3 separate regions of the Homo sapiens genome follow, and all the other regions are linked to region 1. The links are contacts of gene promoters, found by promoter capture Hi-C in human tissues and cell types (Jung and others, 2019). All regions are on one chromosome and are shown on one strand. The core of a region is centred on a gene start or on the middle of the fragment in contact, and the rest is flanking DNA. Distances in the headings are between cores, read along the strand shown.

Region 1 (3,228 bases), core at 292-2,791:
CCCTCCTCAAGAAAACCTTCCAGCTCGCAGTACCCCGAATCCCTGTGCCTCTCCATCCTGTCTCGCTGGACTGAACCTCACTCATTCTCCCATGAATTAAGAAACCAGGGGAAAGAGACGTTGCCAAGTCTCTCCCCGCGCACCCTGGCCCAGTGGCCTCCAGCTGCCAGGCCAGCACCTCCCTGCCTGGGTACAGAGGGCACAGGGAGCTCACGTTGACTTGATGGTGATGCAACGCTCCTGCTCGTCCTTCCGGGTATCAGTGAAGCGTGTCTCCCCGGCCCGGGCCGAGGCGATGATGCCCGCCTTGCACACCAGGGAGTCTGTCAGCGTGGACTTGCCATGGTCCACGTGGGCGATGACAGACATGTTGCGGATGTTGGCCTTCTTGTCCATGATGGCGCGGATCTGGTCTACCGTGAAGTTCACCTGGGCAAGACAAGGAGGCTCAGACCAGCTCGTGATTTCCAGGAACACAGCATGGCACGGAGCGTTCAGTCCAAACGAACCAGCATGCCCAAGGCCAGGAGGGGGTTGGTGCTGGGGTGCCCCAAGCCCACCGAATCTTGCCAGCCTAACACCCCTTAAGAGCCACCCCGCAATCTCCAAGGAACCACCGTTAATAGGTGTCATTCATGATTGACAACCCAGAAATAAAAGTGCTCAGGAATAAAACTGAGTGTCAACAGATTTCCTTGATACCAGGTACAAATACTAAAGTCTCATTTGGGGCCAAACACGTAAGGGATGAATCCTCTCCTAAAGCCCCCTCCACGTTGTCACCGGGCCACCCAAACTTCCCCGAGCAAGAAGCTTCATCATAAAATGCAAGGTCACCCCTTGGCAAACGGGATCAGACAAGGCCACCCACCCCAGGAAATAACGGGGAGCCGGAACGGCCCTAACTGCCACAAGCCTACACCTCGTGTCTCAATAAGAGTCTTTGTACATCTGGGAGTCATAGGAAGGACAAGTGCCTAAGGTCGACGATTAACAGCATCAGGAGAAGGTATTTGGAAGGAAAAGGGGAGCCTTTCAGGTGTCGCTTTGCTCGTTCTGCCATTCCCTGCCGCCCCTAGTCCCCCGGCAGAAAATCGATCTCAAACTCGCGGCCCGCGGGTTACATAAGGCGCCTCCCTGTCTCCCCGCTTCCACCGCGGTGCCCGCCATTACTACGCCTGCCACATCATCATTCCCCACCCCCATCCCCGCTAACAACCCAGCTCCAACCAGGTCTGGGCAAGGTTATGGCGCCCTCGGAAACGGAGAAAGGGCTCGGTGAACAGCGCGGCGCACAGACATGGCGGCGGCCGCTTCCCCAGCCCCGGGTCCTCCGGCCCCGCCGCCGCTACGTCTCCTCCTGGCACGGGGGGCCCCAGCGTCCCAGGCTAGGCAGCGTAGGCCCCGCGGAGGCCCCGCCGCCGCTCCGGGGCACCAGCGAGGCAGGGTTACTCACCATGGTGGCGGATGGCGGTGGATTCTCCCAGGTAGAACCGAAAGAAGCGAGTCGCGCCGAGGATGGCGGCGACGACGGCGGAAGAGAACGCTGACGTCAACACTCAGCTTTTTATAGGCGGACGCCGGTTGGGCGGGTCATGTGACTGCGCTGCGAAGGCGGGGCGAAGGGACGCCGCGCAAGCGCACGGAGGCGTGTCCCCCCGCCCGTTAACCCATTCGGCGCCGGCGCGGCGCTCTAGAATAGAAGCTGGGCATCTCGGGGGCGGTGGTCGCCCTCGGTGTGCAGTGTTCAGGTGCACAAAGTAAAGAGCGCCGTTTTAGCTGAGAACGAGAACCATAGCAACGATATTAGCTTACAAGTTGTCCAGTACTTCTATTAAAACCAATTTACAAGGTGAATAGAGTCTGTGGATTATACCCAAGTCAATTTCCCTGTTTGGACATTGTTACGTAAGACGATACCCCTGGGAGAAGCCGAGGGAAAAAGGACACTCGCGACCACTATACTGTTTTTGCAACTCCTTACCTGTAATTATTTCTAAATAAAAACTTTATAAGAAGCAGGCATCGGAATCACTGATCCCACAAATGCATACTGAGCATCTATACACCAGGCATTGTTAGGGGTTTTGTAGATATAGCAGTGGACCAAACACCTTGCTAGCTTGACCACACTGCGTGTTCTTCTACCAGCTACTAGGATTTCTCTGTGCCTCAATTTCACCTGCTCGGAGGTGATCAATACCACCCTATTGTTTGGGGGAGAGTGAAACGAACTAAAGACATCTAAAAGAATTAGGACCGTGCCTGATACCCAACGCTCAATAAACGCTATCTATTTTAATTAGCTAAGATTGCTATTAATAAAACAGTTATTTATTTCAGGACTGGTTTGCCATGTCCCAGGCACCCGGCTAAGCGGTTTACTGGCACAATTTCATTTTCTATTTCATTTCCTCTCCAGGGGGAGGCGCAGGAAGACTGTTTAGCATTTGTGTCCTAATCTGACCCTAAGAAACAGTTGAATGTATTTCATATCTCATGAATTGGCATTCAATTGTGTAACTCTATCCCTTATGAAAAGCCCAACCCGCTGTTTAGCACATAGTAGGTACTCAGCATTTCTTGCATGAATGATGTTCTCACAGTGCAAATGAACCCCCTGCGGTACATCTTTCCTTAAACTCACTTTGTGAAACAGGAGAGCCACTGCAGTGCTTTTCCTGGGCTGGGAGAGGGGGAGGTGTGGATCCACAAAAAGCAATGCAAATTCCAGCCTGGACTCTAAAATAAACCTGTACACTCCTCCCCCTCACGAATGCTTCGGGCACTTTGCTTTACAAAGCGCTGTCTCAACCTTGGGTTTCATTTAACGGATGATTGCTCTTCCTATCACCATTTAACCCAGTGGAAAACTGAAAAGTATCTTCCGAAAGGATTGAGGCTCTGAAAGGCAGAGGGCGCGGCAGGGAGCAGATGGGAGCGCCCGGGGTCCCTAACCACCTACACCTGTACCTGTGACGCGTTTAGTTAAGTTGCAAGTCAAGCGCATGCGCCATTTGGGGCATGAGTTTTTAGCAGAGGGGTAGTCAGTTTCGCATTATTAATAATAAAATTCTTCAAAATTTTTAAATGCACTGAGCACCTGCTACGTGTTGCGTTTCCTATTGGGGGCTTCGCAGCCGTTTTTTCCGTGCAAAGTGGGAGCATTTCAGAGATGTAATGGAAAGGTTTTCATTAAAAGAGGTGTCAGGCGAGAGGCGGAGGTTG
Region 2 (3,228 bases), core at 195-2,694, 760 kb before region 1:
GGTGCACACCAACCACTCCTGGCTGATTTTTTTTTTTTTTTTTCTCAAACAGAGTTTCACTCTTGTTGCCCAGGCTGGAGTGCAATGGCGCAATCTCGGCTCACTGCAATCTCCGCCTCCCGGGTTCAAGCGATTTTCCTGCCTCAGCCTCCTGAGTAGCTGGGATTACAGGCATGCACAACCATGCCTGGCTAATTTTTGTGTTTTTAGTAGAGACAGAGTTTTCTCCATGTTGATCAGGCTGGTCTCGAACTCCTGATCTCAGGTGATCCACCTGCCTCAGCCTCCCAAAGTGCTGGGATTACAGGTGTGAGCCATCGTGCCTGGCCTGTTTTCTTATTTTTTACAGCAATGGCGTCTCACTATGTTGCTCAGGCTGGTCTCCAACTCCTGGGCTCAAGTGGTCCTCCTGACTCTGCTTCTCAAAGTGCTGGGATTACAGGTGTGAGCCACCACGGCCAGCACGTATTATTATTTTTATTAATATTATTGATGAGTTTCATACGTAAAGGATCACGGGCACTTTAGAGCTGGGAGATACTTCAGTATTTCTCCTATCCTGTCATTATCAGTGCGAGCCAGTCTCCCTCCTTGTTGATGACATTATTGATGAGTTACATACTTAAAGGGCCAAGGACACTTTCTATGTGTAAGCACCCTATAGAACTGGAAGATACTTTTACCATTTCTCCTGTGCTGTCGTGATTAGTGGGAGCACTTTGTCTTGCTCTTGATTAATTATTATTAGTGTTGTTATTATTAGGTGTTTTTTTTTTTTTTTTTTACCAAGACGGAGTTTTGCTCTTGTTGCCCAGGCTGGAGTACAATGGCACAATCTTGGCTCACTGCAACCTCCGCCTCCTGGGTTCAAGTGATTATCCTGCCTCAGCCTCCCGAGTAGCTGGGATTACAGGCACCCCCCGCCACCGAGCCCAGCTAATTTTTGTATTCTTTAGTAGAGACGGGGTTTCACCGTGTTAGCCAGTCTGGTCTCGAACTCCTGACCTCAAGTGATCCACCCACCTCGGCCTCCCAAAGTGCTGAGATGACAGGCGTGAGCCACCGCGCCCAGCCATATTATTAGTGTTATTAATATTATTGATGAGTTACCTACTTTAAGGATCACGGGCGCTTTCAACGACAAGCCCCCTACATTATCCCAGCAACTTTTGACATTCTTCCGGCCGATGCCCTCCGCGGGAGCCGGCGGGGACCCCTGGGAAGCCGGCTAAGGCCCGTCCCGCCCGCAGCTCCGCCCTCGCCCACCCGTAGGCGGGGCCCGGGGCCTTCCGGCCTCAGTTTCCCCCCGCGGCCCGGGGATGCGGGGAGGCGCCGGCTGCCCCGCGCGGCGCGGCCGCCAGGGGCCGCTGCGGAGCCGCCTTTGTGGTCCCGATGCCGGGGCGGGCGCGGGCGGGAGGAGGGCGCGGGGGCCCGGGAGGGAGGCGGGAGGCGCGGCCGCCGCTCCAGCTGCGAGTCCGCCCGCCGCCCGCCGCCGCCGCCGCCGGCTCGGTCCCGCGCCCGCCATGGCCCGCCTGACGGAGAGCGAGGCGCGCCGGCAGCAGCAGCAGCTCCTGCAGCCGCGGCCCTCGCCCGTGGGCAGCAGCGGGCCCGAGCCCCCCGGGGGGCAGCCCGACGGCATGAAGGACCTGGACGCCATCAAACTCTTCGTGGGCCAGATCCCGCGGCACCTGGACGAGAAGGACCTCAAGCCGCTCTTCGAGCAGTTCGGCCGCATCTACGAGCTCACGGTGCTCAAAGACCCCTACACGGGGATGCACAAAGGTGGGCGCCCGGCCCCCTCCCCCCTCTCCCCCTCCCTCCGCCTCCCACCCCACCTTCCGGCATCTTCTCTCCCCCATCACCATCCCTCCTCTGCTCACCTCCCTCCTCTGCCTGCCTCTGCCGGAGCATCGGTTCTTACCCCCTCCCTCCCACCCACCCCTCCTCCCCTCTCTGGGGGTGCAGCTGACAGATCCGAGCGGGCCCCCTCCCCTCCTCCGCCCCCTCTCCCTCCCTCCCCACCTTCCGGCATCTCCTCTCTCTCTCCCTCTCTCTCTCCCTCTCTCTCTCCCTTTCTCTTCTCTCCCATCTCCCTCGACCTCTCATCCTTCCCCCCACAGCACCCTCTCTCTCCCTCCCTCCCTCCCTCACCCTTCCATCCCCCAGACCCCCACCCCTTCCTCCCTCCCTCACCCCACTCTTTCCTGCCCGTTTGCCAGGGGAGCCTCGGGAACGCCGGCACCCCTCCCTGCCCCCCCACCCCCATTCATTCAGCCTCCCCAGGCCCCGTCGGGGAAGTTTGCACCTGCGGACTCCATTGCTTTGGTTATTTTCACAAAGCCAGGCCGGCGGGGCAGGTCCGGCCGCGGGGGACACGGATGCCCAGGACCCCAGGCTAATCGGTAACTACAAAGGAAGACGGGTTGGGGGCGCCCGGCTCGGGGGGACGCGCCCGCCTCGCCTGCCTCGGGTGGCGGAGAGGCTCCCGTCGCTGCCCACCCCCTGGCCCCACCACCTCCGCGTGGATCAGCATTCTCTCCTCCATTTCTCTGCCCTCCCCCTCCCCCGCCTCCACCTTGGGCTCAAGTTGAAACTGGCCGAGCCTCTTAGCAATGTGTTGGGGTCTCAGGCCCAAGACAATGAGCTTGGACGTGTCCATCTGGGCAGAGCCCAAATTCTGGGGTGGACAGGGAGGAGGAGGGAGGCGTGGGCGGCCTCAGGCCTGTCTGCCTCCCTCCCACTGGATTCTCCCTCCGATGGCATCCCGGGTGGGGGTGTCCGGCAATTGTATCCCCAGCCCTTGGTTCCCATCATGGGCCCAGCGTCTGAATTGGGGTGGCTTTGACAGCCTTCCGGTCAGGTGTTGGGGACTGGGGGTGCCACTTCAAAGGCCTTGTGCTGGACACCCCCGGCCCTCCCCCTCCCATCCTCCAGGAAGACCCTGGAGAGGCCTTGGGGAAGGACCGGGGCCCATGACCTATTTTACACCCACTTTTTCCCCAGCGCTGCGTGCCCGGTAAGCATGAATGCATGTTTATTGAATGAATGAATTGAATGAATGAATGAATGAATGAATGAATGAATGAAGGGGTTCAAGAAGGCCCTAGGGAGGGTCTGGTGAGATGGGGCCCAGGCCTGTCACTTCAGCTAGACCCTCCAGCTGGTTATCTTGAGGGAGGAAAGAAACCCCTCCCCATTCCCCATCTCTTTTCAAAACCAACCATCACA
Region 3 (3,228 bases), core at 484-2,983, 740 kb after region 1:
CAACTAAACAAGATACTCAAAACCACAGGAAGGGGGAGACTCAAACTAAAGTCCTTTCAGGGCCAGAATCCACACCATTTACTGACCGGGTCAGGCAGTGTAGGTGGATCCAGGCACCCCTCCACCAAATCCTGCTGAAATCAGCACTCTCCCCTTCCTCTCCTCAAAGCCTTCAAAAAGCTCCTTCCAGGGGCAGCTAGAGGGGGACAGGGGTGGAAAGAAAAGCCTCCAGCAGGCGCACAAAAAACTGCAGCCACTGCCCTGCGGAGGACAACCATCCAGGGCCATAGAAAACCATTTCCTGCCCATGTCTATATTCTAGAGCAGGCAAAGGAATCCCACCAGCCCACACCCCAGCCTTCCTGGCTGCCAAACCCCAGCACAACTGACCTTCTAAAGGGTCCAGAGAGCCTCCATTCCAGCTGCAGGCGTGGGACACAGACCTTTATAGGATAAACATGTCATGAATGTGGCAGGTTAATGGAAGCACCGGCCAGCCGTTCAGCCTCCCCCACTCAGGAGCTGCAGACTGTCAGGCCCGATTCTACCTGGCTAGATTCTAGCTCTGCCTTGAAGCCCTGCAGCACTGTCTGCATGCCCTGGACAGAATCTGGGAGAGAAGCCATCCCACGGGCCCCGATTCCCCTGGGACCCAGCAGAGGAATGCAGGGATTGGTGCCTACGGTCCACACCCCCTGGGCTTTAGTCCCAGCTCCTCGAAAGCAGGTTGGTTCTTGCCTGGGAGGCAAGTGACTTCCTCCTGGGGCCCCTGGGGAAGACCAGGGGGTGGGGGCCAAGGGAATAGACCACTTTTGATGGCTCAGAGGCAGCGTGAACAGGGAAGTGTCAGGGCTGGCCTAAGGCTGTGTGGGAAGAAGGTAGGCGGTTGGACAGGCCTGAGAAGGGAGGCTGAGAGAAGGGGGCTGAACCCTGTGGGCTGGACCCTTGGAAGACAGCTATGCTAACCACTACACCACCAACGCCTCGGCAGGAAAAAGAGTCTCTGGATACCCTTAATAGAGGGATCAAGTAGGGTTGAGGATCAGGACTGGATTGGGGAGACCAAGCCTCGGGGCGAAGGTTGGAGGAAGTGGTAAAGGAGTGAGGACAGGATGCAGGTCGAGGGAGGTGGCCTCTGTGCATATACAGCATTTGCATGGGGAGAGGGAGGAGATCGGGACCTCCAGAGCCTGCACGAAAGGGGAGAGGGTGTCAAGGTCTGCAGCTACGAGGACGTTCTTGGGTGCGGCCACCTCCGGAAGGGGTCAGAGCCTGGTGGCCTGGGCAGCAACGGGATGGGTGGGGAAGCCCATCAGGGAAGGGGAGAAACTGGGAGGTGGCCTGGCCAGCGCAGGAATCGGGGAGGGAAAGAAGGTGGAGGAGGGCCTGGGGCGGAGAGGAAACGAGGCAGGGGGCCGGAGGGACCCACAGACGGGTGCATGGAGGCTCCGGGGTGCGGGGAGGCCAGGCGATGGCGAGGGCAGGGTCAGGGCCGAGGCGGGGCCGGTCAATGGCGGGTTCAGGGTCGCGGCCGGGGCGGGACGAGGCGCGCGGGCGCTGCTCACCGGGACGTGGGGCGGCGGCCGGACTGGGCAGGTCGTCCCGGGTCCAGCGGCGCCTCACGGTCGCGGCTCCATGCCCGGGACTGCGACCCCGGAAGTGGCGGGAGCGGGGGACGACAGCCGCGGCGGACACAGGGGACCCGCCGGCTCAGGCACCTTTGACCCGGAAGTTGAGCGACCCAGGCGGCGGCCTGGGATTGGACACCACCAGGCACGTACCAAGGCGTCCGCGGCGCTTGGGGGGGAGCCCGCGGCGCGGCGGCCTAAGGTGCGTAACGCCCCATGAACGACATCTTCCGGTGGGTTAGGGAGAGACACCCCCCTGTGACTTGGTATCACTCAGTCAAACCCATGATCCCCCACTATTAAGGATATCCGGAGAGGATGCTACCTATCAGGGCGTTGGTGGTATAGTGGTTAGCATAGCTGCCTTCCAAGCAGTTGACCCGGGTTCGATTCCCGGCCAACGCATGCGGTACCACTTTTGCGAGTTTGAAATTTTCATTTTAGTTTTGAGACGGAGTCTCGCTCGGTCCCCCAGGCTGGAGTGCAGTGGCGTGATCTCCGCTCACTGCAACCACCACCTCCCAGGTTCAAACGATTCTCCTGCCTCAGCCTCCCAAGTAGCTGTGATTACAAGCGCACGCCACCACGCCCATCTAATTTTTGTATTTTTAGTAGAGATGGGGTGGGGTGGGGCGGGGTGGGGCGGGGTGGGGGGGGGGGGGCGGTTCACCATTTTGGCCAGGCTGGTCTCGAACTCTGACTTCAGGTGATCCGCCCTCTTCGGCCTTTCAAAGTGCTGGGATTACAGGCGTGAGCCATCAATCACGGAAAATTTTTTTAAATCCCATAAAAATGTCTAAAAGGCAGGAGGAAGGCGGAAGAGAAAGAATGGGACTAGAATCGTTCTTTCGGTGAATTTCAAATAGTATTACTCTCCGGTTAGGAAAAACAGCTGACCTGTTTCCGCCCGGGATCGAACCGGGGACCTTTCGCGTGTGAGGCGAATGTGATAACCGCTACACTACGGAAACCGGTAGGCGTCAGGGTTCTTTAAATTCTCCTATAGAGATAATGTTGCAGTGATAGTTGCGTTGTCCCACCAAAGAAACACTGGCTACAGTCAGCTAAAGCAATATCCGCTCTTCCTGAATATCTGTTATTGTATTTGATACAGTAGAGACCGAAAGAAGGAAAATAAGGAAGACAAAAAGAAATCCAATAAACACCCTTTCCAACACACCCACCCACCCACACACATGTTTATCACTTTATCATAAATCCACCTTCCATTAAAACAATGCACGTCAAACGGCCCACAAACCCATCCGGGGTCAAATGAAGCTTTTCATCTCATAGATATCAATCTATACTTGATATCACATTAGTTTCTGCAGATATTCACCATTTTGCTTTAGATCAAACTACTTTTTTGTGTGTTTTGTTTTTTGTATTTTTTAGAGAGAGTCTCGTTCTGTCGCCTAGGCTCGAGTGCAGTGGTACGATCATCCCTCCCTGCAGCCTCCACCTCCTGGGCTCAAGCGATCCTCCCACCTCAGCCTCCTGGGTAGCTTGGACCACAGGTGTGGACCACCACGCCTGGCTGAATTTTAAAAAATGCGTTTGTAGAGACGGTGCCTTATAGCTGGGACTACAGGCGTGT

What was found. The method cuts DNA at HindIII sites, captures the fragments that hold promoters and counts their contacts. A contact is called where the count stands out against the background at its distance.
Region 2: a contact is called between the fragment with the promoter of CELF5 here and the fragment with the promoter of EEF2 in region 1, in 2 of the 25 tissues and cell types used here (pancreas and thymus).
Region 3: a contact is called between the fragment with the promoter of DPP9 here and the fragment with the promoter of EEF2 in region 1, in 2 of the 25 tissues and cell types used here (bladder and heart left ventricle).

The regions. Positions count from the first base shown.
Region 1 is chr19:3,983,922-3,987,149 of GRCh38, forward strand. EEF2 (eukaryotic translation elongation factor 2) reads right to left here and starts at 1,542. Exons shown (of 15, transcript NM_001961.4): 1 at 1,457-1,542; 2 at 215-429. The coding sequence starts at 1,459. RefSeq lists enhancers at 108-959, 253-472, 1,728-1,777 and a silencer at 1,338-1,447. The HindIII fragment of the contact is 12,453 bases long and covers 1-3,228 here.
Region 2 is chr19:3,223,217-3,226,444 of GRCh38, forward strand. CELF5 (CUGBP Elav-like family member 5) reads left to right here and starts at 1,445. Exons shown (of 13, transcript NM_021938.4): 1 at 1,445-1,782. The coding sequence starts at 1,524. RefSeq lists a silencer at 1,266-1,385. The HindIII fragment of the contact is 19,492 bases long and covers 1-3,228 here.
Region 3 is chr19:4,722,109-4,725,336 of GRCh38, forward strand. DPP9 (dipeptidyl peptidase 9) reads right to left here and starts at 1,734. Exons shown (of 22, transcript NM_139159.5): 1 at 1,566-1,734; 2 at 391-443. It overlaps TRG-TCC1-1 (tRNA-Gly (anticodon TCC) 1-1), which reads left to right and starts at 1,962; the gene lies at 1,962-2,033. It overlaps TRV-CAC3-1 (tRNA-Val (anticodon CAC) 3-1), which reads right to left and starts at 2,599; the gene lies at 2,527-2,599. LOC105372250 (a long non-coding RNA gene) reads left to right here and starts at 772. Exons shown (of 3, transcript XR_936274.2): 1 at 772-878; 2 at 2,512-2,601; 3 at 3,027-3,228. RefSeq lists silencers at 1,535-1,684, 1,915-2,004, 2,455-2,654. The HindIII fragment of the contact is 28,361 bases long and covers 1-3,228 here.